Linked DNA regions of Homo sapiens: region 2 is linked to region 1. Evidence: promoter capture Hi-C in human tissues and cell types (Jung and others, 2019). All regions are on one chromosome and are shown on one strand. Each heading gives the region's core, a stretch centred on a gene start or on the middle of the fragment in contact. The rest is flanking DNA. Distances are from core to core; before and after follow the strand shown. Region 1 holds the start of TMEM143 (transmembrane protein 143). Region 2 holds the start of IRF3 (interferon regulatory factor 3).

Region 1 (7,708 bases), core at 3,528-6,027:
ACGGTAATGATTTGTTTTGATAATAATCACTATTTAAGCCTGGGTGCGGTGGCTCACGCCTGTAATCCCAACACTTTGGAAGGCCGAGGCGGGTGGATCATTTGAGGTCAGGAGTTTAAGACCAGTCTGGCCAACATGGTGAAACCCCATCTCTACTAAAAATACAAAAATTAGCCAGGCATGGTGGTGCACGCTGGTAATCCCAGCTACTCCGGAGGCACAAGAATTGCTTGAACCCAGGAGGCGAAAGTTGCAGTGAGCTGAGACTGCACCAACTGTACTCCAGCCTGGGTGACAGAGCAAGGGTCTGTCTCAAAAAAAAGAAAGAAAAAGAAAAAAAAATCACTAAGGAAAGATCACTACTTGCCTGGCCCATGCTAATCAGTTTATAGGCATTAATTTGTTACATTTTCACAATGATTCTTCCTAGGAGTAGATTATTAGGATCCTCTTTTTACAGACGAGAGTAAGGAGATGTTCAGAGAAATCACATAGCTTGCTCAGGGTCACACGGACACAGGGTGACCAGGCAAGCCATCAAACCAAAGGGGCACTTTTGAGAAAGAAAGTTGCTGCTGCTGGTAAGGACATCAGGCCTGGCCCAGGTAAACTGGGCAGTATGCCACTTTGCATGGACAGCACGTGCCTGAGCCAGGATTCCAGGCCTGTTTGTTCCTTCTCCAAGCTCAGGCTCTAGAAGGGGCAGAGAGGAGATACTCTGGATTAGCACTCTGGGGGTGGAGACCCTGGGTCTGAGCCGGGGAACTCCACCTACTCCTAAGACCTCGATCAAGTCTCAACATCTCCCTGGGCCTTAGTTTCCAATTCTGTTAAAGCGGAGTGGTGGAAGCAGCACAGGTTAAAGGTCAGAGCCACAGCCCTAACCCTTCATGTACTGAGATCCAGAGATGAACAGTGATTGGTTCAAGATCACACAGCAAAGTCTGGGCTGAATGAGGATTTGACTCCAGGTGTCCAGATTCTTCAGGAGTGTGGGGATGATGAAATGAACGGTGGCATGGTGCCTGGCACACGGTTACCACCCAACATCTGGCACTTCAGGGCTGCACTCCTTATTCTCTTCCTAGAAGCCCCAGCCCCTGTTCCTCTCCTTCTCCTCCTCCCTCAACTGGGAGGTGGAAAATAAATGGGCTCTGGCATCTCACAGATCTGAGTTTGAATCCTGCCCCTGCCTGTTACTGCGTGACCTTAGCCAATGCTGTCTAATAGAACTCTCTGGCATGATGAAAATGTCCCATATCTGCACTAATTTTTTTTTTTTTTTAAATGGAGTCTCGCTCTGTCGCCCAGGCTGCAGTGCAGTGGTGTGATCTCGGCTCACTGCAAGCTCCACCTCCCGGGTTCACGCCATTCTCCTGCCTCAGCCTCCAGAGTAGCTGGGACCACAGGCGCCTGCCACCACACCCAGCTAATTTTTTTGTATTTTTAGTAGAGATGGGGTTTCACCGTGTTAGCCAGGATGGTCTCGATCTCCTCACCTCACGATCCGCCCGCCTCGGCCTCCCAAAGTGCTGGGATTACAGGTGTGAGCCACCGTGCCCAGCCACAATTTTTTTTTTTTTTTTTGAGACAGAGTCTCACTCTGTCACCGAGGCTGCAGTGCAACCTCCGCCACATGGGCTCAAGCCATCCTTGAGCCTCAGCCCCCTAAGTAACTGGGACTACAGGCTTGCGCCACCATGCCTGGATAATTTTTGTATTTTTAGTAGAGATGGGTTTTCGCCATGTTGGCCAGGCTGGTCTCGAACTCCTGACCTCAAATGATCTGCCTGCCTTGGCCTACCAAGGTGCTGGTTTTACAGGCATGAACCACCACACCCAGCCTGTACTGTCTAATATGAGAGTCCCCAGCCACATGTGGCTGTTGAGCACCTAAAATGTGGCCACTGTGAGTGAAGAATGGACTTTTATTTTAATTAGTGCAAAGTGAGGTAGCCACATGTGGCTGTGGCTACCCCACTGGACATCCCAGATTTAAAAAATTTACTTAGGCTGGGCGCGGTGGCTGACACCTATAATCCCAGCACTTTGGGAGGCTGAGGTGGGCAGAACACTTGACGTCAGGAGTTTGAGGCCAGCCTGGCCAACATGGCGAAACCCCATCTCTACTAAAAATACAAAAATTAGCCAGGCGCAGTGGCGCACACCTGTAATCCCAGCTACTTGGGAAGCTGAGGCAGGAGAATCGCTTGAACCCAGGAGGTGGAGTTCCAGTGAGCGGAGATCACGCCACTGCTTTTTGCACTCCAGCCTGGGCAACAGAGCGAAACTGTTTCTTTCTTTTCTTTTTTCTTTTTTTTTTTTTTGAGATGGAGTCTGGCTCTGTTGCCTGGGCTGGAGTGCAGTGGTATGATCTCCACTCACTGCAAACTCCACCACCCGGGTTCGAGTGATTCTCCTGCCTCAGCCTCCTCAGTAGCTAGGATTACAGGTGTGTGCCACTATGCCTGGCTAATTAAGATTGTTTCAAAGAAAAAAAATTTACTTAACTTTTCTAAGCCCTAGTTTTGTTATCTCAGAGATGGGACTTGCAGCACCTACTGTGAGGGCTGTTCCTTACTATGAGAGTCCATCAGTGCCTCAATAGCATAGGGCCTATAGTGGGGTGCTCAGGAAAAGGTGGTGTCAGCATTTGCTCCGTTGTCTTGTTTCCCCGTCTGACCCCTTCCTTGTCCTCCCATCTCCCGCACTGTGTCTGGGAGTTGAGAGCTCCTGGCTCCTGTCACCCAGGGGCACAGTCGGGCCATGGGAGGGCCTCACCCCTTCGAAGACCCGCGTGATGGTCTTGGGCCTTCTCAGAAACTGCACGGCTTCGCTGTTGGCCAGCTCCTGGAGGCTTTTGGGGATGTGCATGGCAGCTGTTTTCCTTTGGGGCCACTGGGAGGTGGGAGCCAGGGTGCTGGGCGCTGCCTGCTGGGCACTGCCGTCCGGGGGCTTCAGGCCAGCCCTGGGCTTGGCTGCTGTGGGATGACACAGATGGGGGATGCCAGTCAGGGGCACGGGGTGGAAGGGCTGTTGGGGGCCCCAGGATTGGGGGACATGGGGTGGGGATGGGGGGGGTCCCCGGAATGGAGTTGTGTGGGGTGAGGGGACTGCTGAGCCTCTTAGGAGTCAGGGTGTGGGGTGAATGGGCTGTCAGGGGCCCCAGAAGTCGGGGACGTAGGATGGGGGTGCAGGTGGGTCCCAGGGAATGAGGTTGTGTGTGCTGAGGGGGCTTCTGTGGGCCCCAGGAGTGGGGGGCATAGGATGGGGGTGCTGGGGGTCCCAGGAATGGGGTTGTGTGGTGAGGGGGCTACTAGGGGTCCCAGAAGTGGGAGGCATAGGATGGGGGTTCTGGGGGGTCCCAGGAAAGGTGTTGTGTGGAGAGGGCTGCTAGGGGTCCCTGAAGTGGGGGACATAGGATGCGGGTGCTGGGGGTTCCCAGGAATGGGGTTGTGTGTGGTGAGGGAGCTTTCTGGGGGTCCCAGGAGAGGGGGGCATAGGATGGGGATACTAGGGGTCCCAGGCAAGGTGTCGTGTGGGGAGGGCTGCCAGGGGTCACAGAGGTGGAGGTGCAGGATGAGAGAGTCGCTAAGGGTCCCCTGGGTTGAGGTGTGGGTTAAGGGGGTCTATGGAGGATTCCAGAGAGGTGAGGGCCTGGGGTGAGGGTGATTCTGGGGGTCCCAGGAGTGGGGGACATAAGTGAAGGGGCTGCTTCAGGTTCCAGAAGTCAGGAATGTGGGCTGAGGGGGTTGTTGGGCGAGAGGGCTGTCAGGGATCCCAGAGGTGGAGTGCAGGGGAGGGCTGGGATATTTGGGGACCACGTCTTGTGACCCAGGAGCTGAAGGGCCTGCAGAGGGACTGGGTCCTTCTGTGAGAGGACACAGGTGGGACTTTCTGGGGACTAGGGGGTGCGGCCATTGAGATCAGAGCCCCTGGGAGGTCTGAAACCGAATAATCCCTTTCAGGTTTGGGGGTGACAGCACCCTTCGTGGAGAACCCAGGTATCTCAGGGCATATTTCAGGCTGTCCTTGTCACTTGGGGCCATTTCCCAGAATAAGGGCCTCCCTTTCGAATTCAGCTCCATTTTCACGGAAGTGCACCTCCTCAAGCTGGGAGTCGGGACCTCGGATTTGTGGGGAACCTCAGAATGAGGCCACGCCCCGGCACTGGGCTACCTTCTTAGAATCGCGGTCTCCCCTTTAAGGACCTGGAATGGCAGTGCTGAGGTTTGGGGGTGACGGCACCTGAGAAGGGGCCGCCCCTTCTCTGGAGGGCCAATCTGCGTCACCTGAGGGCCCGCCCTTCCTTTCGCCACCCCCACCCCTCCTGGTCCCTAGCGCCACCTCAGCCTTCTTTTGGTTCCGCTTTTTCCCGCCTTTTCGCTCCTCCACAGCTGATTGGCTGCGCCCAAGTCCCGCCCCCTCCCTCTTTCCGCCTACTCAGGAGCTGACACGAGCCGGGGCGTGGCCTCGGCGAACGTTGGACTGCGCGCCGTTGGCGGACTGCGCGCGGGAGCCCTACCCCGCCCCATCCCTCTAGGGAGTCTCGCGTCCACACCGCCCCTTCCCTTTGTAGCAAGCTGACAAGGAGACACTCCTGCGGCGCATGCGTCGCGCCCAAACGAGGCCGGCGGTGGAGAAAGGCAGGCAACGCATGCGTAGTTGATGTAGGGAGTCGGCGGTGAGAAATGGACAGCCCGCATTGACCGAAGCTTTGCGCATGCGTTTTACTGCTGGGTGAAGCCGAACCTCGGGAGCCCAGGACGCCCTCCTGCACATGCGCAGGAGGCTCAATGACAGTCGAGCTTTGGCTAAGGTGAGGGAGAAATCGGGGGATTGCATGGCCAGGGAGGGCGGCCCTGCACCCCCTAGGTAACCTTTACGAGCATTTCCTGCTCTCCTAAGATCTACCTCGCTGTCTAGACCCCAAAGAAACGTTGTACCACTACAGGGTCTCTGGGCCTGAAAAACGCCCCAGAACCTAAGACCTCTGACCCCTGTCTGGGACCCAGGCCAACTGAGCAGTGTGGGAAGGGGACAGGCAACAGGGGCTTTGAGGCGAGCGGATGGGCTCTGCGCCCTGCCTGGGGTAGAGACGGCTTCTGGAGGGTGGGACGTGGAGGTGGAGAGGGCGCTTTTCCTCTAGATGGCCTTTGACCCCTGCCCATTTTCCTCTGTTTAGGCTCCGGGGAAAGGGTCTAGCCATGCTGCATGTGACCCGGGGGGTCTGGGGGTCCAGGGTCCGAGTATGGCCACTGTTGCCCGCGCTCCTCGGGCCCCCCCGGGCCCTCTCATCGCTGGCAGCCAAAATGGGGGAGTATCGCAAGATGTGGAACCCCAGGGAGCCCCGCGACTGGGCCCAGCAGTACCGCGAGCGCTTCATTCCCTTCTCCAAGGAGCAGCTGCTCCGCCTCCTAATACAGGTACCGCCTGTCCCAGGCCCAAGAGCCTGGGGACTACGGCTCCCAGCAGGCTTCGCGGCGGCAGGGCCCTAGTTGCTGCAGAGAGCTGCCCTGGCGCCTCCTGGGAGTTGTAGTTCCCGGGTCCCTTCGTGTTTCCCTAGTGGGCGGGAGATGAGCTGGAATGCAGGAGCCAGGTCTCCGAGATGCAGACGCAGCATCCATTCCCAACTCTGGCTTGTTCTGAGGGCTTGAACAGGCACTCTCTGGGGCATGGTTTTTCCCTCTTTAAGATGGGTATAGTAATCATCCTCATCATTACTATTTCTACTACCTGATAATAATTGTACCTATAAAGTCACAACGCTGTAATCATAATTATTATCACACAATTTGAGCTCTGACTCCATGGCACTGTGCCAGACATTTTTCATGTATTGTTGAATCATCAGTAAGAGAGATACCACCATCATCCCCATTTTACAGATGAGATAATGGAAGCATAGGGAAGGAAAGTGACTTACCCAAGGCCACAACATAGTGGCTTAGATTTGAACCAAAGTGGTCTGACTCCAGAGCTGGCCCAGGACTAGGGTTAGGCAAGTAGGGCACTCGCTTGACCCTAAGAGTGAGTGCCCCGTTAAATTTTGCACCCTTGGGTGCCATATTCACCTCATCCTAGTCTTGGTCTCACTCTAGAACCTGAGGTCTTATTGCCACCATCATCATCATTGTCATTATTGAGGATTTTGAGGATTATTATTCATTTATTTTTCTTTATTTATTTTTGTGAGACAGGGTCTCACTCTGTTGCCCAGACTGGAGTGCAGTGGCACAATCTCAGCTCACTGCAACCTCTGCCTCCTAGACTCAAGTGATCCTCCTTCCTCAGCCCCCGAGAGGCTGGGACTCTTGCCTGGCTAATTTTTGTATTTTTAGTAGAGACAGGGTATTGCCATGTTGGCCAGGCTGGTCTCGAACTCCTGGCCTCAAGTGATCTGCCCATCTTGGCTTCCCAAAGTGCTGAGATTACAGGTATGAGCCACCACACCTCACCATCATTCATTAATTTAACATTTATTTACTGAACACCTACTGTATGTACTCAATTCTGTGCTGGACTTGATACACACACAAATACACACACACAAATACACACAAGTATATGCATACAAGTACACACACAAATACACAAATATGTGTACACAAATACACAAATATACACATACAAATGCACACACACAAATACACGCACACACAAATATATGCACACAAAAGTACACAAATATACACACATAAATATACAAATATATGCACATATATGTAAACACATGTGTATATAGGACATGTGTAATCTCATCAAATTCTCACCGTAGCCCTCCAAGAAAGAGCGTGTAATCCTCTGTTGCCAGTGAGGAAACTGAGGCTCAGAGAAGTGAAGACAATTACCCAGGACATTGACATAGGAAACATAAAGAAGTGGTTCAAGGCCGGGCGCGGTGGCTCACGCCTGTAATCCCAGCACTTTGGGAGGCCGAGGCGGGCAGATCACGAGGTCAGGAGATTGAGACCATCCTGGCTAACACGATGAAACCGTCTCTACTAAAAATACAAAAAATTAGCCGGGCGAGGTGGCAGGCTCCTGTAGTCCCAGCTACTTGGGAGGTGAGGCAGGAGAATGGTGTGAACCCGGGAAGCGGAGCTTGCAGTGAGCCGAGATCGTGCCACTGCACTCCAGTCTGGGCAACAGAGCAAGACTCCATCTCAAAAAAAAAAAAAGAAGAAGAAGTGGTTCAAGGCCAGGCATGGTGGCTCACGCCAGTAATCCCAGCACTTTGGGAAGTCGATGCAGGTGGATCACCTGAGGTCATGAGTTTGAGACCAGCCTGGCCAACATGGTGAAACCCCGTCTCTATTAAAAGTACAAAAATTAGCTAGGCGTGGTGGCAGGCGCCTATAATCCCAGTTACTTAGAAGGCTGAGGCAGAATTGCTTGAACCGTGGAGGAAGAGGTCGCAGTGAGCTGAGATCATGGCCGCTGCACTCCAGCCTTGGCAACAGAGTGAGACTCCTTCTCAAAAAAAAAAAAAAAGGAAATGGTTCAATGTGTACCCTGGAGTCAGACAGGCCTAGATAGCAGTCATTTCCCACAGACACTGCAGCCCTTACCAAATGACTTTTCCAGAGCCTCAGTTTCTCCCACTGACAAATGGGAGTTATAATTCCATCAACCTTGGGGGTATGGTGGCTCAGCCTCCCAGCACTTTGGGAGGCTGAGGTGGGAGGATTGCTGGAGCACAGGAGTT
Region 2 (7,708 bases), core at 2,334-4,833, 1.3 Mb before region 1:
CTCAGCCTTCTGAGTAGCTGGGATTACAGAAGCGCACCACCACACCTGTCCGATTTTTGTATTTTTAGTAGAGATGGGGTTTCACCATGTTGGCCAGGCTGGTCTCGAACTCCTGACCTCAAGTCATCCACCCAACTCGGCCTCCCAAAGTGCTGGGATTACAGGCGTGAGCCACCACACCCGGCCTCAACCCTTCATTGAAACCTTGTCCCAGCCTCTTTCCACCTGACCATCCAAAGAAAATACAGATCCAGCTTCTGATCCCAGTGCCCCACCATTCCGCAACTCCTGTCCTTGCCAAGGAGTGGGACAGATGCCCATCACCTTCTGGTTAATGACTTCTGCCTCCTCCTCCAGCAGGGCCACCAGCCTCCGCAGTATGGCTTCCTTCTCTGTCGATGGGGGACCCTGTAATTCTGGAGGCAGAAGAGAATTTGGCTGGGGGCAGAACCCTGACTATCCTCCCACCGCCATCCTTCTCTGGGGCTCCTCTGTGCCTCACCTGGGCTGGGCGGAGATTTCAGCTGCTCTTGGACCAGCTGTTCCAGCCGCTGGGCCACCAAAGCATAGAAGTCTGGAGTAGCTGGGCCTGGGGTGAAAAGAGTTAATGACAGGTTTCCAGGACATTGGAAACTTACGGATTCTCTCCTTCCCCCAACTACCTTGGCAGGTGGCAATGATTCCCATTTTATTTATTATTTATTTATGTATTGATTTTGGGAAACGGAGTCTCGCAATTCTCCTGCCTCAGCCTCATGAGTAGCTGGGACTACAGGCGCACGCCGCCATACCTGGCTAATTTTTTGTATTTTAGTAGAAATGGGGTTTCACCGTGTTGCCCAGGCTGACCTCAGGCAATCCACCCACCTCAGCCTCCCAAAGTGCTAGGATTACAGGCGTGAGCAACCAAGCCTGGCCATGATTCCCATTTTATAATGGGGTAAACTGAGGCCCAGTGAGAAAACTTGGTTAAAAATGCCAAAACCCTTGTACTTTTCACTTTATGAGATCCTCAGACTGGACTTAGAATGTCAGAGCTGGGGCCAGGCGCAGTGGCTCACGCCTGTAATCCCATCACTTTGGGAGGCTGAGGCAGGCAGATCACCTGAGGTTGGGAGTTCGAGAGCAGCCTGACCAACATGGAGAAACCCCATCTCTACTAAAAATACAAAAAAAATTAGCCGGGCATGGTGGCGCATGCCTATAATCCCAGCTACTTGGGAGGCTGAGGCAGGAGAATTACTTGAACCCGGGAGGTAGAGGTTGTGGTGAGCCGAGATCGGGCCATTGCACTCCAGCCTGGGCAACAAGGGCGAAACTCCGTCTCAAAAAAAAAAAAAAAAAAAAGAATGTCAGAGCTGACAGGGTGCGGTGGCTCACGTCTGCAATCTCAACATTTTGGGAGGCCGACGTGGGAGGGTCACTTGAGGCCAGGAGTTTGAGGCCAGCCTGGCCAACGTGGCGAAACCCCGTGTCTACTAAAAGTATAAAAATCAGCTAGTATGCTGGCGTGCACCTGTAATCCCAGTCACTCGGGAGGCTGAGGCACGAGAATCGCTTGAACCCAGGAGGTGGGGATTGCAGTGAGTCGAGATTGCACCCCTGCACTCCAGCCTGGGTGACAGAGCAACAATCTGTCTCCAAAAGACTGTCAGAGCTCAACTAGACCTTGAAGATGATCTCATCCAAGGAAGGCAAACACAAGACATTACTGTTAGTATCCCCTTCCCTCACTCACTACAGACATCACCAATTGATCACAGCACTTCCTCTCCCAAGCTGTGAACCCCTTTTCAAGCTAGCACTCCCAGCAGCCATTACTAGTCTGTCCAGGTTCACACCTATGAGGAAACTTGTGGGTCACCTTGATCAAGTCCAGTGACCTCCTCCCCAATTCCTACTCTGCTATTGGAAAAACAGGGGAGCAGGGAAGAGAAAGCATTTTCCCCAGAGTCACGCAACTAAAACAGCCAGGGAGATGTGATTGAAAACCAGCCCTTCTGCCCCTCTATCAGGGGTATTCCTGGCTACAAAAGTCCTAGGGGCAGGGAAGTAGTTATGGAAGGAAAGAGACAACAACCAGATTGACCAAATGCTCTCTGAAAGCCAACCCACAGAATTGACAGAAATCTAACTGGGGAGGGGAGAGGACAGGACGGTTCTGTCCTGAAGGCTGGTGCTAGAGACTCCACACAGCCACCCCCTAGCTGAGTGATCTTAAACTAGCACCTTATCCCGTGTTCTGCCGGCTTCATAGATGATCATGGAAATCTCTTACCAGGCTCTAAACCATAGCAGGGGCGGATGGGCAGAGAGCAAGGCCGAGGGGACTCAGAGGGGGCTGCTCCTCGCCCCAGGGAGCAGGGAAGACATCTTCGAAGGCGGCTCAGGAAGTCTGTTGGCTCTTCTTGGGCAGGGCTTCTGGAGAGGAGGACTTCAGAGACTGACCCCACCAGAGATCCCCTGCAAGCAGTCTCTTTCCCCAACTCCCTCCCTCCCCCGCTGAGGACCTCTCTCCAAAACCCCAAAGACAGAGAATAGAGCCAGATATAAAGAGAGGAGACAGACTGAGACCAGGAGCAAGAGTTAGGAGGGAGCCTCAAATGCTGGCCCCTGGGGGAGAAGGGCCACTCCTCTTACCTAGGTGGAGTTGGAACAGGAGACCCGGCAGCCTCACCACGCCTAAGGAAGGCAGCTAGGACCCTCAGCGTGTCTTCCCGGAGCCCCAGCTCTTCAGAGCCTGCCATGGAGGCACCTGTGAGAGAGAGGGTTAGGGACTGGACTCCAAGGGTTTAGCAAGAAGTGGAGGCTTGGGGACCAGGACTTGTGAGTCCCAAGGAAGGTGCTGAGGGCCTGGACTCCTGGGTCCTTTGGAGAGTGTGGGTCTGGGGGCCTAGACTCTTGAGTCCTCAGACGAAAAAGCGATCAGGAAAAAGACTCTTCGATCCAAGGAAAGGTGGTGGGGCTGGGTGCCCAGATTCGTGGGTCTAAAGGAGGAGGGAGCTGGGGTCCTGGACTTCTGAGTCTTAGAGAAAAAGGAACTGGAGCCCCAGACCCTTAGGTCTCCCAGGAAGAAGAGGCTTAGCGCCCCAACTCCTGGATTCTATAAGAGGCATATGCCAAACTCCTGAAACCCTTAAAGCATCGGGAACTACCAATCCCAAGAGGTTTCAGGGCAAATCTTCCCCTAGGTCCGCGCTTCTTCGCCGCGCAGCCTGCTGTGAGGTGTAGTTCCAAATCTCCGACCCCTGCTGGAATCTAGAGGACCCTGGACCCTTGGATATCAGAGAAGCGGGACTGGGGTGCCCACCACTGGATCCCGGCCCCCTCCTCTTCCCTCCTCACCCCACCCCTCGTCAACACCCCGCTGACCTGGTCCGGGGCCCCACCGCCGCCTCCTCCACTCAACTTGCGGTCTCCTCCACTGAACTCGTACAAACTTTATTAGTTCAACTTTCCCGCGCCTGCGCACTGGGCCGGGTCGATAACCGGCCCAGCGTAGAAAGGGCGGAACGCTGGGTGCACGCTCAATTTGCATGTGACGCTCCCAGCATGCCTCTGGCCGGAAACCCAAAAAAGGGCATAGGGGCGGGAACAGCCCAGCGGGCCGTCCCATCGGCTTTTGGGTCTGTTACCCAAAGAATGATAAAGTTGGTTTTATTTCAAGAAGTCGATCAAAAAGAAAGCCCCAGCGCTCTAGAGCTCAGCTGACGGGAAAGGGGGTGCGCAGCCTCGAGTTTGAGAGCTACCCGGAGCTCCAAGACAGGGGTGGGTTCCAGCTGCCCGCACGCCCCGACCTTCCATCGTAGGTAACGCGGAAGAGCCCGGGAGAGCGTTGGTGGCGTCCGAGAGCGAGGAGCGGGAAAGAGGATGGGTCTGCACGGAGAGTGGAAAGGCAGGCTGTGTACTCTGGGGAAAGTGGAGCAAGGAAGGAGCTACAGTGGCCGACGCTGGAGGTCGGCTGCAGAAAAACTAGAAAAAGTAGGGAGGAAAGAGGAAAAGAGGAGGCGTCTACACTGAGGGGGTTCTAGAGAGGGAGGGGTGGACTCCGTAGATGGGGGTAGTTCAGTCTCGAAACCTGGGGCGTGCTCTGTCCTGGAGGAGGGAGGCGGGCAGTCGGAGGGGAATTGAATGGAAGTTCTGTGTTGGAAATGTTTTGGGAGATCTTCTGTAGGGGGACTGTGGAAGGGGGTCTACATTGGGGTAAGTGCAGGAGGTAGAGGCTTACACGTGAATCGATTCTGCACTGAAATAACTAGGGAAAGAGGATGCTACCCTGAAAGTGGGGATACTTACTTTCGATGATGTGGGGGAGGGAGGAGGTCTATACTGGCGGAATTGAGGGAGTGGAGGGTCTGCACTGAAGACGCTGGGGAAGGATGTGCCATGGATATGGGAAGGAACCCTAGCTGATTAGAGAGCCTCTCGGGAGGATGGGAGGATGGGAAGAGGAGGTTTCCTGTTTGTACCCCCGAAAATATGGGTGAAGGACCTGTGCCGTGGCCCGTGAGAAGGAGGTCTGGGTGCGGAAACTCCAGGCCAGGTGGGTCCGGGGGAGGCCGGTCGCGCCCAGGAAATGCCCTATACGCGCAGGCCGGACCATGGGAACCCCAAAGCCACGGATCCTGCCCTGGCTGGTGTCGCAGCTGGACCTGGGGCAACTGGAGGGCGTGGCCTGGGTGAACAAGAGCCGCACGCGCTTCCGCATCCCTTGGAAGCACGGCCTACGGCAGGATGCACAGCAGGAGGATTTCGGAATCTTCCAGGTGCGTGCGACGACCTGGGACGCTGGAAACCCGGAGCTGCGCGCTGGGCGGAAAGGACTCCTAGTGGGCCCGGCTGAGAAGGCGGAGGTGGCGCGCGAGGGGCGGGCTCGTGCCAACGCTGGTGGGTGGGGCTAGAACGGGAGGGGCGGGGCTAGCCGGATCCGCTGACTGATGGTGGGGCGCAAGCAGGGTTGGAGCTGCAGGGTTACGGGAATAAAACCGGGAAAGCCGGTTAGTACGCAAAGGAAATGCATCCTGGGGGTTTGGGGCTTTCTAGAGGCCGGGGCTCTTGGTTGTAGGATAGATACTGGGGGATGGTTCTTGAAACATCAGAGGTGAGGCCTGGAGCCCCAAATCTGAGGTTCCTAACTACCGAATTAGTATATGCCAGAGGTGGTAAACAGTGTGAGGGGCGGGGTTATCACAGAGGGTGTCGCGGGGCAGGTGGTGCACGGGATTAGACACCAAGTTGGACTTGGAAGCCTGGCTTAGAAAGAAAAGGTTTTTGGGCCGGGGGCGGTGGTTCACACCTGTAATCCTAGCACTTTGCAAGGCCAAGGCGGGAGGATCGCTTGAGCCCAGGAGTTTGAGGCCAGCTTGGGCAACATAGGCTCCATCTCTTTAAAAACAAAAGCGAAACAAAACAAAAACCAAAGAGGTTTCAAAGGCTTTTGAAGAGGCCGAGCACAGTAGCTCATGCCTGTAATCCCAGCACTTTGGGAGGCCGAGGAGGACGGATCACCTGAGGTCAGGAGTTCAAGACCAGCCTGGCCAACATGGTGAAACCCCATCTCTACTAAAAATACAAAAATTAGCCAGGTGTAGTGGTGCCCACCTGTAATCCCAGCTACTCAGGAGGCTGAGACAGGAGAATCGCTTGAACCGGGGAGGCGGAAGTTGCAGTGAGCTGAGATTGCACCATTGCATTCCAGCCTGGGTGACAGGAGTGAAACTCCATCTCAAAAAGAAAAAAAGCCTTTTGAAAACTAGAGGTGGGGGATGGAGGTAGGTGGGACGGGGGGATTTGGGGATGGACCTTGCAGAGTTAGAACTTGCCAGGGAAAGAGGGTGGTGTTAGGACTCGGGAGACAGGGTTAGGGCCCCAGGAGCAGGATCTAAGTCGTCCTCCCCCACCATCCTGACACCACTGTTGCCCCAGGCCTGGGCCGAGGCCACTGGTGCATATGTTCCCGGGAGGGATAAGCCAGACCTGCCAACCTGGAAGAGGAATTTCCGCTCTGCCCTCAACCGCAAAGAAGGGTTGCGTTTAGCAGAGGACCGGAGCAAGGACCCTCACGACCCACATAAAATCTACGAGTTTGTGAACTCAGGTCTGCCAGCTTGGGGTTCGTGTGGGAGGCTGGGGCCCCAAGGGTTCCTGGCACTCCTACTCCCCTCACCACTTTTCTCAACAGGAGTTGGGGACTTTTCCCAGCCAGACACCTCTCCGGACACCAATGGTGGAGGCAGTACTTCTGATACCCAGGTGAGAATGTGCCCAACTTTCATGCCCCTCAGTCTCCGACCTGTCTCCATGGGCCTTGTCCTCTCCCTCTAGACGATCCCCCCACTCCCCTGCCTCCAGCCTGCCCCTCACCTGAGCCAGTGCTGACCCTGTCTGTCCCTGCCCCGGTCTCCTCAGGAGAAAATTCCAAGTCTTCACCCAGCATTCAAGGCCCGAGCACACCTTCCCGGGATTTCATGGATTTCGATTCGCAGGGGGCTGTCAGCCTCTTGGGAACTGAAAAACTCCCTCACCTTGATCCTGCTGAGGCCCAAGCTGGGGGAGCATCCCCTCTGAAATTCTACCCAGCCTGCTTTGCCCAGGTCTTACCTGCATAGAGCCAGATCCTTGGGTTGGAATGGTAGCACCTGGCGTTCATTAGTGTTTGTTTGGCTGTTGATGCCATGGCTGGCTCTGTCCCCAGGCTGGAAGCCCCTTGAAGGCAGAGCTCAAGCCTGACCTCCCTGCGTTGCTGAGAACAGACCTGGTCCATATGAAGTCTCCAGAAAAGGATATGGAAATGCCTGATTCTCTTTTTTTGTTTCCCTCCAGGAAGACATTCTGGATGAGTTACTGGGTAACATGGTGTTGGCCCCACTCCCAGATCCGGGACCCCCAAGCCTGGCTGTAGCCCCTGAGCCCTGCCCTCAGCCCCTGCGGAGCCCCAGCTTGGACAATCCCACTCCCTTCCCAAACCTGGGGCCCTCTGAGAACCCACTGAAGCGGCTGTTGGTGCCGGGGGAAGGTGAGTGTCAGCTGCAGGCTGGGAGGGCTGAGGTCTGGGCGGCAGCCCCTGATTCTCAACCCCTCTCCCCTTCATGCCGCTGCTGCCGCTGCTCAGAGTGGGAGTTCGAGGTGACAGCCTTCTACCGGGGCCGCCAAGTCTTCCAGCAGACCATCTCCTGCCCGGAGGGCCTGCGGCTGGTGGGGTCCGAAGTGGGAGACAGGACGCTGCCTGGATGGCCAGTCACACTGCCAGACCCTGGCATGTCCCTGACAGACAGGGGAGTGATGAGCTACGTGAGGCATGTGCTGAGCTGCCTGGGTGGGGGACTGGCTCTCTGGCGGGCCGGGCAGTGGCTCTGGGCCCAGCGGCTGGGGCACTGCCACACATACTGGGCAGTGAGCGAGGAGCTGCTCCCCAACAGCGGGCATGGGCCTGATGGCGAGGTCCCCAAGGACAAGGAAGGAGGCGTGTTTGACCTGGGGCCCTTCATTGTAGGTGAGTGAGACAGGGGCTTCGACCTGGCCAGTACAAAGCAGCCTGCACAGTGGTTAACAACTCAGGATTGGCCGGGCACGGTGGCTCACGCCTGTAGTCCCAGCACTTTGGGAGGCTGAGGTGGGCAGATGACAAGTTCAGGAGTTCGAGACCAGCCTGGTCAACATAGTGAAACCCCATCTCTACTAAAGATACAAAAAAATAGTCGGGCGTGGT

The links. Contacts are between HindIII fragments. The study calls those that stand out against the background at their distance.
Region 2: the fragment with the promoter of IRF3 here is called in contact with the fragment with the promoter of TMEM143 in region 1 in 1 of the 25 tissues and cell types used here (hippocampus).

What each region holds. Positions count from the first base shown.
Region 1 is chr19:48,361,009-48,368,716 of GRCh38, reverse strand. TMEM143 (transmembrane protein 143) reads left to right here and starts at 4,777. Exons shown (of 8, transcript NM_018273.4): 1 at 4,777-4,819; 2 at 5,186-5,426. The coding sequence starts at 4,797. It overlaps SYNGR4 (synaptogyrin 4), which reads right to left and starts at 4,350. Exons shown (of 5, transcript NM_012451.4): 1 at 4,180-4,350; 2 at 2,782-2,981. The coding sequence starts at 2,874. RefSeq lists enhancers at 4,056-4,205, 4,576-4,695, 5,176-5,225. The HindIII fragment of the contact is 11,146 bases long and covers 2,070-7,708 here.
Region 2 is chr19:49,661,732-49,669,439 of GRCh38, reverse strand. IRF3 (interferon regulatory factor 3) reads left to right here and starts at 3,583. Exons shown (of 8, transcript NM_001571.6): 1 at 3,583-3,809; 2 at 4,594-4,766; 3 at 5,926-6,097; 4 at 6,182-6,252; 5 at 6,823-7,015; 6 at 7,112-7,492. The coding sequence starts at 4,602. It overlaps BCL2L12 (BCL2 like 12), which reads right to left and starts at 3,507. Exons shown (of 7, transcript NM_138639.2): 1 at 3,373-3,507; 2 at 2,641-2,755; 3 at 2,279-2,421; 4 at 503-589; 5 at 325-416. The coding sequence starts at 2,747. RefSeq lists silencers at 3,335-3,414, 3,455-3,604. The HindIII fragment of the contact is 43,433 bases long and covers 1-7,708 here.